2 separate regions of the Homo sapiens genome follow, and region 1 is linked to region 2. The links are contacts of gene promoters, found by promoter capture Hi-C in blood cells and fetal thymus (Javierre and others, 2016). All regions are on one chromosome and are shown on one strand. The core of a region is centred on a gene start or on the middle of the fragment in contact, and the rest is flanking DNA. Distances in the headings are between cores, read along the strand shown.

The links. Contacts are between HindIII fragments. The CHiCAGO score rates a contact against its expected background, and 5 or more counts as called.
Region 1: the fragment with the promoter of CTNNBIP1 here is called in contact with the fragment with the promoter of CENPS in region 2 in 2 of 17 cell types (fetal thymus and naive CD8 T cells); the score reaches 5.9 in fetal thymus.

The regions. Positions count from the first base shown.
Region 1 is chr1:9,905,692-9,913,348 of GRCh38, forward strand. It overlaps CTNNBIP1 (catenin beta interacting protein 1), which reads right to left and starts at 4,578. Exons shown (of 6, transcript NM_020248.3): 1 at 4,404-4,578. RefSeq lists silencers at 4,126-4,185, 4,356-4,415, 4,426-5,025 and enhancers at 5,173-5,846, 5,847-6,519. The HindIII fragment of the contact is 9,783 bases long and covers 1,239-7,657 here.
Region 2 is chr1:10,424,480-10,431,957 of GRCh38, forward strand. It overlaps CENPS (centromere protein S), which reads left to right and starts at 5,954. Exons shown (of 5, transcript NM_199294.3): 1 at 5,954-6,089. The coding sequence starts at 6,039. It overlaps CENPS-CORT (CENPS-CORT readthrough), which reads left to right and starts at 5,954. Exons shown (of 4, transcript NM_199006.3): 1 at 5,954-6,089. The coding sequence starts at 6,039. RefSeq lists enhancers at 1,427-2,032, 2,033-2,638, 6,552-6,601 and silencers at 3,593-3,887, 6,052-6,301. The HindIII fragment of the contact is 4,555 bases long and covers 4,938-7,478 here.

The sequences.
Region 1 (7,657 bases), core at 3,328-5,827, 520 kb before region 2:
AGTGCTGGGATTACAAGCGTGAACCACCGCGCCCGGCCTCACCACCCTACATTCTTTTGTTGACTCGTTTATTTGTTTACTATCTGTCTCTCCCACTAGAAGATAAACTTCATAAGAGCATGCCTCTTAAAGACCGTGTTCTTGGCTACGTCCATAGCATCCGCAACAGTGCCTAGCACATAGGTGCTCAATCAGTCATTCAATTCAACAAATATTTTCAGAGTACTACAAAGTTTAGGTACTATATTATAAGAGTAGACAAAAAGAGACAAAAATCTCTGCTCTCAAAGAGCTTAAATGCTGGTGGGAGCTAAGAAGCAGATAAAAAAAGGCGAAATAATGGTTACTTCAATTTAGCATATACCAAGTGCTAGGTGGTCTTCTGAGTATCTACTAGGTATTACTTAATTTAATCCTCCCAACAACTCCATGAGGAAAGTATTACTATTGTGCATATGGGGAAACTGAGACACAGAGAGATTAAGTTACCTGCTGAAGATCATGCAGCTCCTGAAGGCAGAACCAAGATCCAAACCTGATGGTCTTGGTACAAAGTCCATGGTCTAATTAAGAGCTACACTTCAGGCCAGGCACGGTGGCTCACGCCTGTAATCCCAACACTTTAGGAGGCCGAGGTGGGTGGATCGCCTGAGGTCAGGAGTTCGAGACCAGCCTGACCAACATGGTGAAACCCCATCTCTACTAAAAATACAAAAATTAGCCAGACGTGGTGGCACACGCCTGTAATCCCAGTTACTTGGGAGGCTGAGGCAGGAGAATCGTTTGAACCCAGGAGGCAGAGGGTTGCAGTGAGCCAAGATTGTGCTATTGCACTCCAGCCTGGGCAACAAGAGCAAAACTCCATCTAAAAAAAAAAATAATAATAAAGAGCTACACTTCATATTTGCTGAGTGTCAAGTGACTACTTGGTCAGCACCAGCAGCAGCTGTTCCCCACAGGCAAGGATGGAGAGAGCAGATCCATCAAGGAAGGGCTGCCCTGTCATGTGAGCCCTGTGAACAAGACACTGCTGGGTTTACACTATATTGCACCCTGGATGAGGAGTCTACAAGAAGCATGGTCTGATGAAAAGACAGGGGCAGGGGCAGGAGTCTTGGTGCGATGAGATGCCCAGGCAAGTCAACCAATATTTGAAGAGTTTACATTTTGTGCAGGGCGCTGATTCAGACACTGTGGACGATGCAAAGACAAACCCAGTAGAGATTCTGGCCTCAGAAAGCTTAGAGTCACATGTGTACACATGGAGATGAAATGGGGTAGAAACTAGCAGGCATCATAAGAAAATGCATAAACTGCTATAAGATTTCAAAAGAGCCAGCTTCTAGGGGACACAGACGCTTAACCATAAAAGAAGGGGCTGGCCTGTGTAACCCCCAAGGTCCTCTCATTCTGACATGTTCTGACAGCACAGATTTGGAGCAGCATGGAGATAAGTTTTATTCTGTTTTTTGGGGAGTTTTTTTGTTTTTTGTTTTTGAGACAGAGTCTTCCTCCGTCGCCCAGGCTGGAGTGCAGTGGCACGATCTTGGCTCACTGCAACCTCCACCTCCCTGGTTCAAGCGATTCTCCTGCCTCAGCCTCTCGAGTAGCTGGGATTACAGGCACTCGCCATCATGCCCAGCTGATTTTTGTATTTTTAGTAGAGACGGGTTTTCACCATGTTGCCCAGGCTGGTCTTGAGCTCCTGACCTCAGGTGATCCGCCCGCCTTGGCCTCCTAAAATGTTGGCATATACAGGGGTGAGCCACTGCACCTGGCCTCATTCTCATTAATAGCTCAAGTTTGTGGCCACTGAAACATTCTCCTACCTACCATGAGAACAGGCCCAATTTCCTGGTGCAACATCTTCCAACAGTGGCAGTAATGTTCCCATTTAAACAATACAACCGGATGTGGGAATGAAACCCAGTGTATTATGCCCTCCTCCACCTCTAACTGGTTTTTAAACCCACAAACCCTCTCCAATCAAGGAGGCGGGGACCTGTTCTGTGAGCACGTTGTTATGGGACATCTAACTCTCAGTCTCCAAAGTTTTGCTTTGCAGCTCTCCCAGAGGGAACAGACTGATTCCACCTCTTCGTTTCCACTGCCACTGCCCCGATCCCTCAAGCCACCATCATCTCTTGCCAGGCAGCTGCAATAGTCTGTCTCATAACTGGTATTCCTGCCTCCACCTTTGCTCCTTAGAATCCAGTCTCTACACAGTGGCCAGAACAATCTTTTGGAACAAATCAGACTTTATTCTTTCTCTGCTTAAAACCCTCCAATGGCCTCTAACTGTTCTTGGAATAAAATCCAAACTCTTTATTACGACCTACAAAATCTTTGTTTTGATCTACAGGTTCTTTTTCTCCACCCCCGCCCAAGACGGAGTTTTGCTCTGTTGCCCAGGCTGGAGTGCAGTGGCGCAATCTCGGCTCACCGCAACCTCCGCCTCCCAGGTTCAGGAAATTCTCCTGCCTCAGCCTCCCAAGTAGCTGGGACTACAGGCATGCACCACCACGCTCAGCTAATTTTTGTATTTTTAGTAGAGACAGGGTTTCACCATGTTGGTCAGGATGGTCTCGAACTCCTGACCTCGTGATCTGCCCGCCTTGGCCTCCCAAAGTGCTGGGATTACAGGCATGAACCACTGAGTCCGCCCTGATCCACAGATTCTTTTTTTTTTTTTTTTTTTTTGAGACGGAGTCTCGCTCTGTCGCCCAGACTGGAGTGCAGTGGCGTGACCTCGGCTCACTGCAAGTTCCACCTCCCGGGTTCACGCCATTCTCCTGCCTCAGCCTCTCCGAGTAGCTGGGACTACAGGTGCCCACCACCACGCCCAGCTAATTTTTTGTATTTGTAGTAGATATGGGGTTTCACCGTGGTCTCGATCTCCTAACCTCGTGATCCGCCCGCCTCGGCCTCCCAAAGTGCTGGGACTACAAGCGTGAGCCACCGCGCCCGGCCACAGATTCTTATATGTAATCTGGCCCCTCTCCATCTTCATAGCACTTACCACTACTGAAATTATTTTGTCCACTTGTTTGTTTACTCACTTATTGTCTGACTTTCCTCCTCTTTAAAATGTCATCTCTGAGGAGGGCAGAAACCGTGTCTGTCTTCACCACTAAAGCCCCAGTACTTGGAACGGTGCCTGGCACATAGTAAATGCTCACTACTGAATGAATGAATCTCCATCCCATAGAGGTGATTTGTATTTACAAGGGAGGACCACGAACTCCCCCAGCAAACCGTGAATGACACATTGGCATTTAACAGCCCGCACCTTTATTTATGATCCAAAGTCCTACTTTAAATCTGAGGAAGCTGCTGGTATCTCTGGACATTTTAATGGCACAAGAGATCAGTTATCACTTGGGGACACACTCCAGGAACTGGAGCCCAGTGGTTGTAGCAGGGAGCTAAGAGCCAAGGCTCCTGCGAACAGAACTTCAAGACAAACCATGACTTGCCTCCAGGTCCCTTACCCACACACCCTGTACCTCAATTTACCCAGCAGTTGGCCAGACATGTTCCTCTCAGTTCTGTGAGTGACAGGAGACAAAATAATTCACAGCTGGAGCATACTGAGATCCTCAGACAGGAGGTGGTGCAAGCCACACGTCTCATTATTCATAAAACTCTTGATTTGCGGCCAACACGGCCCCCGCCGCCTTCCCAGGGGCTAACCTGACAACAGGCACTGCTCAGACAAGTTCAGCTCACAAGGCAGAGGGAGGGATGGAGGGCCTAGCAGAGGCTGGGTGTCCAGACCTGAGTGTCTCGGTTACCAGGTTCCAAAAAAAGGAAGGTGGTTGGGGTGGGGTGATGAAAAGGAGGTGAGAGGTGCAGTTTGGGGCTCCAGGTGGTTAATTTTGCAGGTTCGTGCATACACGCCCGCCATCCAGGTGAGATATGTGCCCCCACCAGGTACCTTCCAGGAAGGCTCACCGGGGAGGGGTGGAATCGGGAGACGACAGTTCAATCAAACTACAGAGGGAGGAAGGGCGGCCCAGCGTTTAGTTTGGGGAAATATGGAGAGTAAGAGTCTCAGAGTGGGCGCAGGTGAGGGAAGAGGCAGGGGCCCAGAGGTCGGGAGGGCGGACGGGCGATGACAGGCACCCGGACGCGGTGAGGTGAGCAACAAGGTGGGCGGCGCGGACACCTGTGGAGGCGACCCCCGGGCGAAGAGTCAGGGAGGCGGGAGGTGGTCTGCGGCGAGAGGCGGCCAGGCCCAGACCAGGGCGCCGCGCCGCTGGGGCAGTCAGGGGTCCGAGCGGGGTCGGGGGCGCTCTCCGCGGCCCCTCCCCGGCAGACAAAGGGCTGGCCGCTCCCCCAAGCCCCGGCGCGGCGCGGCGCGGGCCCGGGCGGTGCAGGCGCGGCCCGGCCTCGGCGCTTACCTGGGCCGCCCGACCCGGCCGGGCCGGCAGGGGCAGCGGGTCCGGCGCGCAGCGCGCGGCGGCCTGTTCCGGGGCGTGCTCAGCCCGAGCAGCCGCTGCGGCGGCGGCAGTAGCAGCAGCAGGAGCGGCCGCCTCAGCCTCCGCCTCCCGCTCCGAGAGTCACCGCGGTGGGGAGGGAGGGAGGCGCCAGGCCGCCGGGGGAGGGACCGGCGGAGGGGGCGGCATCTGGCTCCGCGCGGGCTGCTGAGGCGCGGCGGCGGCAACGCCCCGGAGGGAGGCGGGCGCGTGGGGCCGGGCGCCGGGGCGGGGCCTGCGGGCGGGGCGGGGCCCGGGGCCGCGAATTGGTTAACTCAGCCTGTGGGCGGGGCTGCGCGGTGCGGGGCGGGGCCTTGTGGCGCATGTGAACGCTCATTGGGCCCTCCTGGAAGGGGGCGAGACCAGCGACATAGGGACGGGGCCATGCGGTGGGCGGGTGGAACACGGCGCCGGTAGTGAGTGGCCGAGTCCGCGCTGAGAGCAAAGGGGAGGAGCGGGCCGGGGGTGAGCAGGGAAGGCGGGTTGGGCGCGAGGAGGAGGCGGTGGCCTGGAGGAGGAGCCGGGTAAGGCTGAAGCTGGCGCTGCGGTAAAGCCACTCTGCGTGTCCCTATCTGCTCCAGGAGCACAGTGTTCCGGAAAAATAATGGCCTCTCCCACACACCGGTCTGTGTTTAAAAACGGGAGCAACAAGACGGGGCAGAATCCTTGGTGAGGCCAGTTTACCCAGAACCCCGGAAAATTCTGAAATGGACGAGGTTGCAGAACATTTAGAGGCGTGGTCTTCCTGCGTCGTTGAGCTGGGAACGTTGCTACCTCTGAGCTTGGGGCCTAACCTGGGATTAACCTAGCCCAGAGAGCCCAGGGATGGGCCTCCGTAGGTCCATTAAACTCAGAAGGTCGTGTGTACTGGTAGTGAGTGGATTTTTCGGGGGAAGGGTGCCCATGATTAAAATGTTTCTACAGAAAGTCTGGCTGTATTTGGAGAGGGTACAGGGAGAAGCAGCCCATTTTAGGTAAAATGCAAATTGCTTTTAACATCCGCCTTCCTTTTAAAGGGACCTGTATCTTTAAGTGTGGTCTCATTTTCAGCAGTTTAAATTATCAGTTACACAGTGTGACACTAACCCCAGTTCAGAAGCCCTCCTACCCTACTCCTCCCACAGCCTTTCTTTTTACACCTTTTCTGTACCATCCTCTTCCACTCCACATTTCTTCCCCTTCCCTATGCAAAAAGAATACGAAGTCCTTTTTTGTTTGTTCGTTTATAATATAATATCCACATTACTCTTTACTCATTTGGGGGGTTTTTTTGTTTTTGAGAGGGAGTCTCGCTCTGTCGCCCAGGCTCAGGTGCAGTGGCGCGATCTTGGCTCACCGCAACCTCCGCTTCCCGGGTTCAAGCGATTCTCCTGCCTCAGCCTCCTGAGTAGATGGGATTACCGGCATGCGCCCCGGCTAATTTTTGTATTTTTAGTAGAGACGGGTTTTCTCTATGTTGGCCAGGCTGGTCTCCAACTTCTGACCCCAAGTGGTCTGCCCGCCTCGGCCTCCCAAAATGCTAGGATTACAGGCCTGAGACACCGCACCCGGCCTGCTCACACTTTTTCATACTTAATAGGTCCCCGGCCGGGCGCAGTGGCTCATGCCTGTAATCTCAGCACTTTGGGAGGCCAAGGCAGACAGATCACCTGAGGTCGGGAGTTGGAGACCAGCCTGACCAACATGAAGAAACCCCGTCTCTACTAAAAATACAAAAATTAGCCGGGCGTGGTGGCGCATGCCTGTAATCCCAGCTACTCAGGAGACTGAGGCAGGAAAATCGCTTGAACCCGGGAGGCGAGGGTGCAGTGAGCCGAGATTGCGCCATTGCACTCCAGCCTGGGCAACAAGAGCGAAACTCTGTCTGAAAAAAAAAAAAAAAAAAAAATTGGTCCCCAAGTGGGTTTCTCCTACAGTGTCCCCACCTTCAGTAACTGGCACCACTCTCTACCCAGTTGCTTACACCAGACACTTAAATTGTACCGTTGACACCACTCTTTCCTTTATTCTTCATTTCCAGTCCATGTTGTTTCCAATTCTAAATGGTGTCCTTAATCTCTCCACCTCCTACCATCTCTACCCCTCTTTCCCAGTTTAACCTGCCACCAGCTATCACCTTGACTCCTGCAATAACCCTTCAAGCAGTCTCTCCTTTAGGCTCTCCTTACGCCCCCATTCACTGCCCACACAGCAACTAAAGGAAACTTCTTAAAATCTTGTCAGACCTGCGCTATTCAACGACTTCTCTTCATTTTCACGAGGAAGTTCAAAGTCCTTAGTGTGGCAACAAGGCCTTACAGGATCTGGCTACAGCCTGATCTTGAACCACTTTTGCCAACTGGGCTCTAGCCACATATGGGCCTTGTGCCTGTTCCTTGATCACAGGGAGCTCTTTTGTGCTTCAGGTCTTCTGATTGCGCTGTTCCCTTGGCCTCAATGGCTCTTTTCCGATTTCTCCCCACTTCACCTGCCTGAATACTTGGTCTACTTCCGGGAGACCTCTTAATGGATGCTAGCCCTAGTCCCACAGCATGGCTATAAACTCCAGGAGGGCAAGGACCATGCCACCAAGCACAATACCTGTATCCACAAATATTACTGCAGGAACAAACTGAATGTGTAAATACTCCATCCAGGACTTTCCCTTCCATCGGCCGGCCAGCCACTCCTACTCCCCGCCTCCGACCCCCAGGGCTATCAGCCTTCTCCTCCTTACTCTTCTCTCACTGCATTTATGGTTCGATATTTTCTCCTTTCAGCTCTGGAGAGGGCCTCCGTGTGGTCCCAGAACATATATTAGGTATCTTTTTTTTCTTTTTTTTGAGATGGGGTCTCAGTCTGTTGCCCAGGCTGGAGCACAGTGGTGCAATCTTGGCTCACTGAAACCTCCACCTCCTGGATTCAAGTGATTCTCCTGCTCAGCCTCCTGAGTAGCTGGGATTACAGGCACCCGCCACCATGCCCAGCTAATTTTTTGTATTTTTAGTAGAGACGGGGCTTCACCATGTTGGCCAGGCTGGTCTCGAACTCCTGACCTCAAGTGATCTGTTGGCCTCAGCCTCCCAAAGTGCTGGGACTACAGCTGTGAGCCACCATGCTGGCCTATTATGTATCTTTAAATAGTTGCTTTCTGGAGCAAAAAAAGAAAAAAAACACTATTTTTTTTCTCTTTTTTTTCT
Region 2 (7,478 bases), core at 4,704-7,203:
ATTGTTCTTGCCATCTTCGTAAATTACAGTCTGCCACATATGCTGCCCCTGAAAAGGAAAATCTGTTACATAGCAGAGTTGGGAACCGGCACTATTTGGGGCTTTTCCTGAGGGTCTCATATAGTATATATACTACTAGCTAACATTGAGAGCATATGCCAGGCTCTGTAACTCATTGAATGCTCGCAGCACCCTCTGAAGTAAGCACTATTACTATCCCTAATTTAGAGATGAAGCACACTGATATTAAGTAATTCGTCCAAGGTCAGAGCTACTGAAGAACTGGAATTGAACCCCAGAGATCTGGTGCCAGAGTCCATACACTTAATCATGAAACTGACCTGTCGGCGTGCACAGTTCATCGCCCCACTCATTCAGTCATTCGGCATGTTTATGGTACACCTACCATGTGCCAAGCATTGTGCTAGGTACCCTCTGTCGGGGTGAGAGAAGTCCAAAGTCCTGACCTCATGTGCTTACAGGATACATATAATATTTAACGATAATTATTTTTAAATTTTTATCTTCTCTTGAATAAACCTATGAAATGGAGATTGATTTTTTTTTTTTTTTTTGAGATGTAGTCTCACTGTCACCCAGGCTGGAGTGCAATGGCATGATCTTGGCTCACTACGACCTCCGCCTCCTGGGCAAGCGATTCTCCTGCCTCAGCCTCCTTAGTAGCTGAGATTACAGGCGTGCACCACCATGCCTGGCTAATTTTTGTATTTTTAGTAGAGATGGGGTTTCACCATGTTGGCCAGGCTGGTCACAAACTCCTGACCTCGGGTGATCCACCCGCCTCGGCCTCCCAAAGTGCTGGGATTACAGGCATGAGCCACCACGCCCAGCCAAGATTGATTTTTGTATTGACATTTTACAGTGCAGTTTTTTTTTTTTTTTGAGACGGAGTTTTGTGGGGAAAAGAAAGATCAGATTGTTACTGTGTTTGTGTAGAAAGAAGTAGACATAAGAGACTCCATTTTGTTTTGTACTAAGAGAAATTCTTCTGCCTTGAGATGCTGTTAATCTGTAACCTTACCCCCAACCCTGTGCTCTCCGAAACATGTGCTGTGTCAACTCAGGGTTAAATGGATTAAGGGCTGTGCAAGATGTGCTTTGTTAAACAGACGCTTGAAGGCAGCATGCTCGTTAAGAGTCATCACCACTCCCTAATGTGTCCGGAATTGGTGGGTTCTTGGTCTCACTAGCTCCAAGAATGAAGCCGCGGACCCTCGCGGTGAGTGTTACAGCTCTTAAGGTGGCGCATCTGGAGTTTGTTCCTTCTGATGTTCGGATGTGTTCGGAGTTTCTTCCTTCTCGTGGGCTCGTGGTCTCACTGGCTCAGGAGTGAAGCTGCAGATCTTCGCGGTGAGTGTTACAGCTCATAAAAGCAGCGTGGACCCAAAGAGTGAGCAGTAACAAGATTTATTGCAAAGAACAAAACTGCCACAGCGTGGAAGGGAACCCAAGCGGGTTGCCACTGCTGGCTTGGGCAGCCTGCTTTTATTCTCTTATCTGGCCCCACCCACGTCCTGCTGATTGGTAGAGCCCAGTGGTCTGTTTTGACAGGGCGCTGACTGGTGCGTTTACAATCCCTGAGCTAGACACAAAGGTTCTCCAAGGCCCCACCAGAGTAGCTAGATACAGAGTGTCGATTGGTGCATTCACAAACCCTGGGCTAAACAAAGGGTGCTGATTGGTGTATTTACAAACCTTGAGCTAGATACAGAGTGCCGATTGGTGTATTTATAATCCCTGAGCTAGACATAAAGGTTCTCCTCCTCCCCACCAGACTCAGGAGCCCAGCTGGCTTCACCCAGTGGATCCTGCACCAGGCTGCAGGTGGAGCTGCCTGCCAGTCCTGCGCCATGCGCCCACACTCCCCAGCCCTTGGGTGGTCGATGGGACTGGGCGCCGTGGAGCAGGGGGCCACGCTCATCGGGGAGGCTCGGGCCACACAGGAGCCCACGGAGTGGGTGGGAGGCTCAGGCATGGCGGGCTGCAGGTCCCGAGCCCTGCCCCACAGGAAGGCAGCTAAGGCCCAGTGAGAAATCGAGTGCAGCGCCGGTGGGCTGGCACTGCTGGGGGACCCAGTACACCCTCCGCAGCCGCTGGCCTGGGTGCTAAGCCCCTCATTGCCCTGGGCGGGCAGGGCCAGCCGGCTGCTCCGAGTGCGGGGCCCGCCAAGCCCACGCCCACCCGGAACTCCAGCTGGCCCGCAAGCGCCGCGCGCAGCCCTGGTTCCCGCTTGCGCCTCTCCCTCCACACCTCCCTGCAAGCTGAGGGAGCCGGCTCTGGCCTTGGCCAGCCCAGAAAGGGGCTCCCACAGTGCAGCGGTGGGCTGAAGGGCTCCTCAAGTGCCACCAAAGTAGGAGCCCAGGCAGAGGAGGTGCCGAGAGCGAGCGAGGGCTTTAGGACTGCCAGCACGCTGTCACCTCTCACTAATCTCAAGTACCCAGGGACAGAAACACTGCGGAAGGCCGCAGGGACCTCTGCCTAGGAAAGCCAGGTATTGTCCAAGGTTTCTCCCCATGTGATAGTCTGAAATATGGCCTCGTGGGAGGGAAAGACCTGACCGTCCCCCAGCCCGACACCCGTAAAGGGTCTGTGCTGAGGAGGATTAGTAAAAGAGGAAGGAACGCCTCTTGCAGTTGAGACGAGAGGAAGGCATCTGTCTCCTGCCCGTCCCTGGGCAATGGAATGTCTCAGTATAAAACCCGATTGTATGTTCCATCTACTGAGATAGGGGAAAACCGCCTTAGGGCTGGAGGTGGGACAGGCGGGCAGCAATACTGCTCTTCAAGGCATTGAGATGTTTATGTGTACACATATCTAAAGCACAGCACTTAATTCTTTACCTTATCTATGGTGCAGAGACCTTTGTTCAAGTGTTTATCTGCTGACCTTCTCTCCACTATTATCCTATGATCCTGCCACATCCCCCTCTCCGAGAAACACCCAAGAATGATCAATAAATACTAAGGGAATTCAGGCCGGCGGGATCCTCCATATGCTGAACGCTGGTCCCCTGGGCCCCCTTATTTCTTTCTCTATACTTTGTCTCTGTGTCTTTTTCTTTTCCAAGTCTCTCGTTCCACCTAACGAGAAACACCCACAGGTGTGGAGGGGCAACCCACCCCTTCAAGTTTCGCTCTTGTTTGCCCAGGCTGGAGTGCAATGCACGATCTCAGCTCACCGCAAAACCTCCGCCTCCCAGGTTCAAGCGATTCTCCTGCCTCAGCCTCCCGAGTAGCTGGGATTACAGGCATGCACCACTACGCCTGGCTAATTTTGTATTTTTAGTAGAGACAGGGTTTCTCCATGTTGAGGCTGGTCTCGAACTCCTGACCTCAGGTGATCCGCCTGCCTCGGCCTCCCAAAGTGCTGGGATTATAGGCGTGAGCCACCACGCCCGGCTGAACTAAATATTTATGGAACCCTCCTTAATGCAGATGAAAAGGATTAAAGAAACCCACCAAGGTCTTTGTCTTATTTATGGTGAGGGCAGTGGATAAACCGGAAACTCGGAAACCAGCCTAATAATCAAATCTGGTCTCTATCACTTCCCAGTAGTTTAGCCTTGGGCAGAGTTCTTTCACCTGTTTCCTCATGTAAAATGGGGCTAACAGCACCTACTTTTGAGGGCAGATGAGATATTAAATGAGTGCCTAGAGCGAGGACAAGTGCAAAGTGCTCAGTGTCATGGCAACATTGCCAGCGGGCATCCCTGGCCTTGCTTCACGCTGTAGTGCAACACTGACATCTAGTGGCCAGATTATAGGGCTACTTCTTCATCAAGTAAGTTTCAACCAAATATTAATATATCCTTTTTTCATTATTTTTTTTAGAGACAGTGTCTCCCTCTGTCACCCTGGCTGGAAAACAGTGGGGCAATCACGGCTCACCATAGCCTTGAACTGGGCTCAAGTGATCCTCCTGCCTTGGTCTCCCTAAGTGTTGGGATTACAGGCTTGAACCACCACACCCAGTTCCATTTTCTGTAATGAATACCTCAACCCTCGACCTATTTCTCAGACCTTTTTTTTTGAGACAGAGTCTCGCTCTGTTGCCCAGGCTGGAGTGCTATGGTGCGATCTCAGCTCACTGCAACCTTCACCTCCCGGGTTCAAGCAATCCTCCTGCCTTAGCCTCCCAAGTGCTAGGATTACAAGCATGTGCCACCATGTCTGGCTAATTTTTGTATTTTTTGGTAGAGACAGGGTTTCATCATGTTGGCCAGGCTGGTCTTGAACTCCTCACCTCAAGTGATCTACCTGCCTCGGCCTCCCAAAGTGCAGGAATTACAGGTATGAGCCACTGCTCCTAGCCTCTGAGGCTCTTAAGTGCCTCTGTATTGCACACATGTCACTGGAATACTGTTCTTTAATCCTGGGAAGCAACTGCTTTAAAATGAGGGAACACACAGGTACAAAGCACAGGAACTTCCTGGGACGAATTGTTACAATTTCTTTAGCTCTTATGTGAGGCAATTGTTTAAAACCTGACACCTGCCCTGTGAAGTTGGAACTACTGTCCCCAGTTGATAAATAAGGGACATGAAGCTTGGCCACGTCCTGTGACTTGCTTGGGGTCACCAGGCTCAAGGGAGGGAGCTGGGCTTTGCAGCCACAGTGTGCTCTAAATGGGGCTGCTCACCAACCAGCGACCGGCCTTCTCTCCTGCTGCAGGCTTGGTCTCACTCTGGATGGCCTGCCCTGCCCAGCCCCATGCTGCCCATTAGGGGAATCCGTCAGAGGCTTGCCCTGCTTGGGCAGGAGGACTGTCCAGGTAGACTGGGATGCCCACAGAGAGCAGTGGACAGAGGCGAGAAGTGCCTGTCATTTCCAGATGCCACCCACTGAGCAGATGCAGAGGAAAGTCCTCAGAAGGCTGATTCCTCCAAAAAGCTTTGATCTGGGTTTCAGCCCCTGGCAAGCTTAGGGAACTTGAGGGACGTCCCTGGGAAAGGAAGACAAGGAGTGGCTTTATGTGCTTTCCTTCGTTCTGAAAGTAGCACCTGCTTGTGACAAATGCAGAATACAGAAATATAGGCAATAAAAAATAATAAAACAAAAACCTAGAAATACAGGCAGGGCATGGTGGCTCACACCTGTAATTCCAGCACTTTGGGAGGCTGAGGTGGGATGATTGTTTGAAGCCAGGAGTTTGATACCAGCCTGGGCAACATAGTGAGACCTGGTCTCTACAAAAAATAAAAATTAGCCAGGTGCGCTGATGCAGGCTTGTGGTCCCAGCTACTTGGGAGGCTGAAGTGGGAGGATCACCTGAGCCCAGGAGGTGGAGGTTACAGTGAGTCTTGGTGGTGCCACTGCACTCCAGCCTGGGCGGCAGAGTGAGACCCTGCCTCTCAAAAAACTACAATAAAAACAAACCAAAATTGGGTTTGATGGTCTCACTTCATCGTTAACATAAAGGAAAAACAGTAACACTTGTGTCAGAACTATACTCCTGCCAATGGCAACAACGCAGTTCCTGTTCCACTCGCTGAATGAGGTCACGGGTCGTTCACTCATTGTAGTCTTTGTGACGCTATTGTTGGTGATAGAATGATAAAGTTGATGGTCGATTTTGCAAGATACACCTGAGGTACAGGTGCATGGAGCTCCTGATAATGTGTACTGCGTTACATGATCTGTAAATCGTGGGCTACGCATCCTCTACACCCGACTGGAACACGCTTTGCACCTATGCGCACACGTGTTTCGCGGAGAGTGGTGCTCAGCGTTGTGCCAGGCGCTGAATCAGGCTCTGGGGTGCAGCAGTGACCTCGGTGGTCATGTCCCCGCGTCGCCCGGCCACCTCCGCAGAGCAAGCTGAGCAGGGGGCTGGCTGGAGGCCGACGGCGGAATCCCCTCAACGGAGCGCCGCCAGGGGGCGCGCGAGGCAGGGCGGAGCTGCGTACTTTGTCCGCCCGCGCGGCCCGTCGCTCGCGCCGCGGCGGGAAAATCCGACCTGGCCGCGCACCACCGCCCCTTCTCGGCCCTCCTGCGTTTGCCCAGGGTCGGCCCGCAGTGATGGAGGAGGAGGCGGAGACCGAGGAGCAGCAGCGATTCTCTTACCAACAGGTACAGGAAAACGGGGGTCGGGCTGGGCTGGGGCAGGACGGCGTCGAGTTTCTGGACAGAAAAGTACCCGGCAGCCCCCGGCGGCTTCTCATCGGCACCCCGCCCCCGGGCGCCCCCCGCGGCTGCGCATGCGTTGGCTTAACTGCCGCGGGTGGTGCTGGGAGGCGGTTTCCGCGGCAACGCGGCTGGACCCTGGCCTGCGCTGGCTGGGGAGGAAGCGGTTCTAGGGGAGCGTGCGGGCGCCGGGGTCCGGCGGCGAGAGGCCACCTTCTGGCCTTGCGATGAATCCTCGGTTTCCCCTTCTCAGATGGGGTTTTCGTGAGGGTACAACGTCGGCATTAGACATTCCAGGTGACGCCCGTACGCGGTGGGCGGTTCGGGCCGGAGCTCTGGAACGCTGGCCCTGGAGGCGTCGACCCCTCGTTACTGATGCAGGGACGCGGTGCGGACCAGTCAGGCCCAGAGCTCGTCCTTAGATGTGGGTTCGAATCTCTGCCCCGCCAACTTGTGATCGTATCGACTCGGCCCAGACGCAATTTTCTTCTCTGCAAAATCGTCATAAGAATAATCACTTGTCAGGGTAGCTGCGGGCATCCCATTCGTTCCTTTCATCAGCGCCGGGCATATGGGGCGTCAGAGGCTGAGAACGTTGCCGTGAAGAGGCTTAAAAGCAAGACCCGGAGTGGCGACCTTAAAGAGGACGGACTGAAGAAACGCGGGAATGAGCTCCAGACGCGGGAGTTTCCTCTCTACAAAGTTACACTGCAGCAGCTGTCTACCCTGCCCCTTGTCTTTTGAGAAGTTCAAACCTTCAGAAAAGTTGCAAGAACACGGTACAGAATGCCCAGATGCCCGTCACCTTGATTCACCACTAGTTAGCATTTTGCTCTGTTTGCTCCCATGCTTCCCTCCCAGCCCCGCGATTGGAGAATTAATTGCAGATATTTTGACACTTCGCCTTTACATTTTAATTCTTTAGTACACATCTCCCAAAAACAAGGCATTGGCTGGGCGCGGTGGCTCACGCCTGTAATTCCAGCACTTTGGGAGGCCGAGGTGGGCAGATCACTTGAGGTCAGGAGTTCGAGACCAGACTGGCCAACATGGAAACCCCCTCTCAACTAAAAGTACAAAAATTAGCCGAGTGTGGTGGCAGGTGCCTGTAATCCCAGCTACTCGGGACGTTGAGGCAGGGGAATCGCTTGAACCCGGGAGGCGGAGGTTGCAGTGAGCCGAGATCGCACCATTGCACTCCAGCCTGGGTGACAGAGCGAGACTCCATCTCAGAAAAAAAAAAAAAAAAGGCATTCTCCTACTACATCATTTCAATAAATTGTCCCACTCAGGAAGTGGGACAATTAATTTTGATAAAACTCTATTGAATGTGCA